2 separate regions of the Homo sapiens genome follow, and region 1 is linked to region 2. The links are contacts of gene promoters, found by promoter capture Hi-C in human tissues and cell types (Jung and others, 2019). All regions are on one chromosome and are shown on one strand. The core of a region is centred on a gene start or on the middle of the fragment in contact, and the rest is flanking DNA. Distances in the headings are between cores, read along the strand shown.

Region 1 (3,409 bases), core at 190-2,689, 160 kb after region 2:
ATAGAGGAGGAGCGAATACTTCCAAACTCATTCTATGAGACCGGTATTACCCTGATGCCAAAACCACATAAAAACACATAGAAAAAGGAAAACTGCAGACCAATATCTCTAATGAATATTGTTGCAAAAAATCCCAACAAAATATTAGTAAACTGAATTCAACAATACATTAAAAAGCTCATTCATCATGACCAAGTGGGATTTATTCCTGGGATGCAAGCATCAAGGATAGTTCACCATACACAAATCAATAAATGTGATACATCATATCAACAGAATGAAGGACAAAAACCATATGACCATTTCAATTGATGCTGAAAAAGCATTTGATAAAATGTAACATCCCTTCATGATAAAAAAATCCTCAAAAAAACTGGATTTAGGAGGACTATACCTCAACATAGTACAACCCATATATGACAAACGCACAGCTAGTATCGTACTGAATGAGGGAGACTGAAAGCCTATCCTCTAAGACCTGGAGCATGACAAGGATGCCCATTTTCACCACTGTTATTCAGTGTAGTAATGGAAGTCCTAGCTACAGCAATCAGAGAAGAGAAAGAAAAAAATGGCATCCAAATTGTAAAGGAAGAAGTCAGATTATCCTTGTTTGCAGATGATATGCTCTTATATTTGGAAAAACCTAAAGACTCCAAAAACAGGCAAAACTAATCTATGGTGATAGAAATCAGAGGTGGCTGCCTCTGGGGCCAGAGATTGAATGGAATGAAACAAGAAGGAACTTTCTACATCTTGGGGTGGTTATTACACAGATGTATATGGATGTAAAAGTCTAAAAATTCACTGAACTGCACATTTAAATGTTTGTGCCTTTTTCTGTATGTAAGTCAGAACTCCATAAAAATTTAAAACAAAAACACCAAAAAGCAAGCCATGGGATTTGACATGAAACAGGAAAAGGGAGTAAGAAAGGCAAACCAAGCCACAAGGCAGGACAAATTGCCAATAGCAGAAAATCAAGTTCGAGGACCTTAGAGACTTTAGTATTGAGACACTAAATGCTTCCTCCTAAATGAAAAGAGAAGAAATGAGGCTGGATGACTTTTGTGTTCGGTCATAAAAAGCCATGCTTGGTTCTCATGGGACTTGTGGCATTTGGTGTTTACAGACCATCGGAAATCCTCACTGCTTTATCTCTCAAGTTCACTGGTAGCTCTTGGAAAATCAGGAATCTGAGAGACTCACAGAAACTGCTGCTAATGATGCCAGCTGCCTGTGCTTTAGAGGTGATTTATAGAAGACAGGCAGCACTGCAAAACCTCACATTTGCATAAATTAAATCCACCAATTCTCACGTATCTGCCCCCTCTTCATGGCTAGAGAAGCAAGCATGCCTCTCCTTTTACCTTCCAAATCTAAGCAAGAACCTCTCCTTGGTTCATTATTCTCTCCTAGAATAATGATGGTAAAGAGTTACAGAAAATGCAGTTCTTAGGCTTTTAGAACCTCCAAAAAAAGAGGAGAGCATAGAAAAAGTGGAGATAGATGCTGATTGCAAAGACACCAGTGTTGCTCTTTTTAAGACTGGTATTTACTTGATTGCTGCTAAGGTTGAACGCTTTCCCTGTGCTTGCTTAGTATGTTTTCCATTTTATGGTAAACAATCAAAAAGCTGTTGTTTTAACAAAGTTCCATTTTTGTAGTGGAAGGAAAAAAAGCTTTATGGGTAGACTTGTGTTCTATATATACCTCGGGTGCTCTTGTTGAGGATAACTTAACTCAGGCTAGTAATAGACACTATAGTTCATGTGATACCCAAGCACACTGACCAGGAGGAATGCCACTGTTCCTAGTTACTGAGCAATTATCGCAAGCCAGTGCTTCACGCGCAATCGCATTTCATGTGTTTTATAGATGACGTGACAGATATAACATTTTTAACTATTTCCTTTTGCATTTCTCCACCTCCCAGCAGTTTAATTCCTTCCCTGGAAGCTTTTTTCCTATTCTAAGCTGGAGTGTGAGACTTGCTGTCTTGAGGAAGGGGCAGGAGGGATTCCATCTAGAACAAAGAAGGCCAGCTGTTAGGAAGAAGACTGAGATTAGGAAAGTCCCTACCAGAAGGAAAAGAAGGGGAACTCCTCCCCTTATGACTTGGTGAGGAAGTAAGAAAAAGAGGGAGAAGACAGGGGTTGAGATGCTAGAGTCCTGCCAACCCCACAGTCCTGAGGTCCAAATGCTGGGGTGGGGTGGGAATGGAGTTTAGGGATTCCTACAGCATAAGGGATCATGGCCTGTCTTCCCAGGGTGTTCATAGTCCACGACATCACAAAGAAACCATATTCAACCTGGCTTCTGAGCACTAGATCAGAAACAGTAAAGGAAATGAATGTCTTCAAAAACTGGTGACTGTGGTTAACCCTAAGGAAAGTAATGTCTGGGAGCCCTATAAATGAGACACTGAGACCTCTGAATTTTGTACCTGTAGATGCCCATGGCAGATAAATCACAAAAATATCCACAATTCTATACCCCCTCTTTGTATCCACACCTTTTGCAATTAGGCTTTGCAGTTCCCTAACAAGAGGCAAAGTCTATTTTCCATTCCTTGAATCTTGTCTGGTCTTGTAACTTGATGTGGCCAAAAGAATATGGCAGAAGTTTCCTTGTACCTTGCACTGTCTCTCAAAACTGCCCCTTTCATGAGAACAAGACTAAGTTAGTGTCCTGGAAGATGAGAGACCACATAGAGGACAGCTGAGGTACCTGGGTTAACAATCAGTCAACCGCAGTAACAAAGCCACCTAGCCAACCTGCAGCTGACCTCAAGTGCATGAACATTCCCAGCCAAAATCTGCTGAGATGAGAAGACCGAACCACCAAATGGAGCCCTGACTGAATTGTCAACCCACAAAATAGTAAATTAACTGAACATTTAGTTTTTAAGCTTCTAAATTTTGGGGTGCTTTGTTATGCAGCAATAGCTAACCAATACAATGCCTTGCCTATTAAAATAAAATTATTTGTAAGTAAAACTTTAGAAAAAAACAATAGCTGAGAAAGAAATCTGCATAGATGAGCAGGTGATTCAGAAATTCCCGTGTAAGAATGACATGGAAAGTACTGAGGGTCTGGTGGAATCATCTAGGCTTGTGGCCCTTTCAAAGAAGTTTCACTATATAGATCTCATTGACAGGAGAACAAGTAGAGGGAGTAATGGAATTGAGCAGGGGTATCAATGCAAGGCCTCAAAAGTCTAGAAAAGACCAGTCACAGACCCAGTGCAAAGTCCTTGGGGACCAGGCCAGACTAACCTCCTCATAGTAGACACCAGACCTCTGGGACCCAGGGGACATACTCAGATCCAAGGCCTGCCACCCTGTTGCTGGAGAATCTTCAGCTTCCTCTGCACCCAGAACCTTCTGAAGCATGAGGGAGGAAGTGA
Region 2 (3,697 bases), core at 521-3,020:
GCTTGGCACCATATCTGGAGCACAGGAAACTCTCAATAAATGATAGCTGTTATAATTCCTTCATGTCATATAGAAGCCAATTGCTTGTATTCAAGTGTAATTAGACATTGATTCATATATTCTTTTCATTTTGTGTTTTCACTACTGTGGGTGTGGAGAAGGAGGGGAAGATTTCACCCTGTGTACATCTGCCACATTAAAACAGGACTTTCAATTAAAACATGATAACATTTACAATTTGATTTGACAATTATTCATGACAGATTAAGAACCTAAAACCCACATGTGAGATGAAGGATTCTGGACAGGTCTTTCTTAGTCATAGATGCTGGAAGAGAAATCATTTCTTTTAACAAGGTGGCTTTTCTAAGGCACAACGGTGGCAGAGAACCAGTGGACTCTTCCTGTACACAGAAAATAATTATAGCCATGTTTTTTTGCTTATAATTAATTATGAGTCAAGCATTCAGTATGGCTTATATTATTCCTACCATAGCTCTACAAGGTGCATATTCTAACATTTATTTACATACAATCAAACCAAGGCTCAGAGAAGTAGTGTCTTTTTGAAAATCACACAGCTGGAAATTGTAAGAGGAGGAATTAATCTATGGTTGAACAAGGAGCGGGATTTAGAGAATCCAGAGGGAGAAACTGATTTCAGGGTGGCAGCGAGAGTCCAAATACACTATATAAGCTGGGTCTCAGGAGGCCTGGGTTGCTGGGAGAAAGCCACTGGTGGGCAACTCAGCATGCAGGAGGGATCCATTCAAAAGCAACATTTGAGTTCCCGCACTTCACCTGGCACCGTGAGTATCAATAATGACCTACTGGGTTTCAGGCATGATATGCTCATTACCTCTTTAATCGTCACTAAAACACTGCACAAAAAGACTTACTATTCCCAGTTTAGGAGATTGAAACTGAGCATAGGAGGGCCCAGCGACTTCCCCAACTCCTTGGCACACACTCTTGGCAGGAGCATGGATTTTTCCTCTTTCCTCATTTCCCATCCGAACTCAGTGATGAATGAAATAGGTGCTCTGTGTGTAGAAGAAAGGGTATTGAAATTGATGCGACGGCCCCAGGAACCTGCCCACCATAATCTTCCCTCATGATAACCCTATCCCCTTTCCATAACCCACAATCCCCACCTCACTCCACAAAGCAGTTGCTTATTACCTCAAACCCAGTTTCTCTCCTGGAAGGAGTCAAGAAATAATTCCTTCTGCTGGGTGCAGGCACATGAAAGTGCTAAGGTCCACAAGAGACTGAATTTGGGCTAAGTGTTGCCAATTATAGCAATTTGGAATAGAAAATCATTTCAGGAGAAGATCTGGTTCCTCTCCAGTGTTGAGCAGGTCCTGTGAACTCTTCTCCTACGTCCAGCGGAGTGGCATTTGGTTGAGGCTGGTGCAGAACAAGACCACAAGCCAACCACATCCTAGGGTCTTGAAATAAAGACTTTAGAAAACAATACCTAACAACAGATCTTTCTTGACTTAAAAGCCTCAAATGGCAAATCACCAAGAAGACCTGAAAATGGGTTTGGGGACACGAGGAGGGAGCACAGGTCCCAGGCAGGCAGGAAGCATTATTTCTGCTAACCCTGTCTGATTATCCTGAAAATGGAGCACGATTAACTCCTTGCTTTGTAGCTGCCTACTGTGCCTGATTTGTAAGTCACAATCTAGAAGCAGGTTACTGTTGCATTCCATCATAGCCACTTCCTCTTGAATTGAGGGAGGCAGGGCTTGTCTTCTGTCTTCAGAGCAGGGCCTGACATCTCCCCAGAACAGACGTTTGAACAGAGCAGGCTTCTGAGGTCTCCAAAATGCCTGTCCCAGCCTCCTGGCCCCATCCTCCTGGTCCTTTCCTGCTTCTGACTCTACTGCTGGGACTTACAGGTGAGCATTGCATTGGGCTAGAACCCTTTCTCCCTGCTTCCTGGACCTAGCCTTGCCCCTGGACTTGCAGCAATTTCAGATAAGCACAAGCACTGCCAAGGAAGGTCAAGGACTGGACATTGTCCAAGAGCAGAAGATCAGGGAGCTGAGCACTTTCTCTGTGGATCTGCAGCTGGCTACCAGAGGCATCAAACCTTGTGAGGCTTCTGCCACCATCACAATTAGTTACATTTTTATAATATTTTATTTGACAAACACAGAAGAATCATTATTAAATCCTTACCTGTCTTGAGTCCTCCTACCCATTTTTGTGTGCCCTCCTCCTCTTTAAGAAGTTCCACATTTCATGCTTACAGCGTCCTATATTCCTTTCTTAGGGCTTCCACAACAAAGCACCACAGACTCAGTAACTAAAACAATAGACATTTACTTTCTTTCTTTCAGTTCTGGAGGCTGAATTGCAAAATCAAGATGCCAGCAGGGTTAGTTTCTACTGAGGTCTTTCTCCTTGGCTTGTAGAAGGCCATCTCCTCCATGTGTCTTGACACATGGTCTTCCTCTGTGTGTGTCTGTATTCTCATTTTCTCTTATGAGAACATCAGCCATATTGGATTAAGGCTCCCCGCCAGTGACCTCATTTAACTAAATTGCTTCACCCATTTATGCCTAGTGCTCCGTTATTGGATCACTAAGCTTGCGGGAGTTATTTATATCCTACTGCTCAAGGGCATCGCCAAGGTCTGATTTTTCAAATTAAAAAAAAATTGCAACCTCGGGCATAAATGGGTTAAAGACCTTGTCTCCAAATATGGTCAAATTCTAAGGCGCTGGGGATTGGGGCTTCAACCCATTCGTTTTGGGGGCACATTCAGCCCATAACAGGCACCACCATCTCCCTTGGTCATCTTGACTTTCCTCTGGAGAATTTATTTTCCCTTCCCCCAGGCAGACAGGATTGGGAGGTCTTTCCTGGTGCCACCTGAGAGAGCCCTGTTCACAGCTCCCAGACAGGCTGCCTGTCTTCACCCCTTTTTCAGACCATGCAGCTGACCCCCGGTCACAGGGCTGGGCACAATAGCCTCTCAGTTGCCCACTGGGCCCTGCTGTGATGTCATCTCACAGGTCTTAGAGGGCAAGGTCTCACTTTTCAAATTATTTTTTTTACACATACACTGTACCCAAATGACAGCAGTAATAGTTCAGCAATTGCTCTCTTCCTGTAAGGCAGATGCACTTCTTAGCATTTTGTGTGTATTAAGTCAACTAATCCTCACAGCATCCCTGTGTGGAAGCTATAACTCTTGTGCTCTATTTGCAAATGGGGAGTGAGGCAGAGGCAGGAACCTGTTCATTGTCCCCTACTTCAGTCCATGGAGCAGTTGGGATCAAGTCCAGGTTGACCAGTTCCAGAGTTTATCACCCTTTTAACCATGTTATGCTATGTGTAGAAATATTAGAAAATGCAGGCAAGCAAACATTAGATTAATAATCACCCATCACACCAGTCAGAAACAATCAGAGGTAAAACACTAGTGTATGTATGTTTTCCCAAAATGTTAAAAATGTGTTGGATGGTTTCTATGTGCCAAATATTTTACTGAGATTTTTAAATTTGTCATAATTGTAATTAATGCACAAAACAACCTTATATACTAACATGATAAGCCAAACTTTTATATATATTTGTGAATGTGTATATATACACATTATATACACATATATATGCACATGTGCCTATGCATGTACATGTACATGCACAGATGAGATTTCATTTTTAATCATTGGTTCTC

Evidence for each region. Contacts are between HindIII fragments. The study calls those that stand out against the background at their distance.
Region 1: a fragment that was not itself captured here is called in contact with the fragment with the promoter of SIRPG in region 2 in 2 of the 25 tissues and cell types used here (H1 embryonic stem cells and spleen).

What each region holds. Positions count from the first base shown.
Region 1 is chr20:1,492,421-1,495,829 of GRCh38, reverse strand. No RefSeq gene overlaps it. Among named protein-coding and RNA genes, the nearest start is that of SIRPB2, 2.7 kb to the right of the region's middle. The HindIII fragment of the contact is 3,719 bases long and covers 1-3,298 here.
Region 2 is chr20:1,655,852-1,659,548 of GRCh38, reverse strand. SIRPG (signal regulatory protein gamma) reads left to right here and starts at 1,770. Exons shown (of 6, transcript NM_018556.4): 1 at 1,770-1,907. The coding sequence starts at 1,835. The HindIII fragment of the contact is 12,235 bases long and covers 1-3,697 here.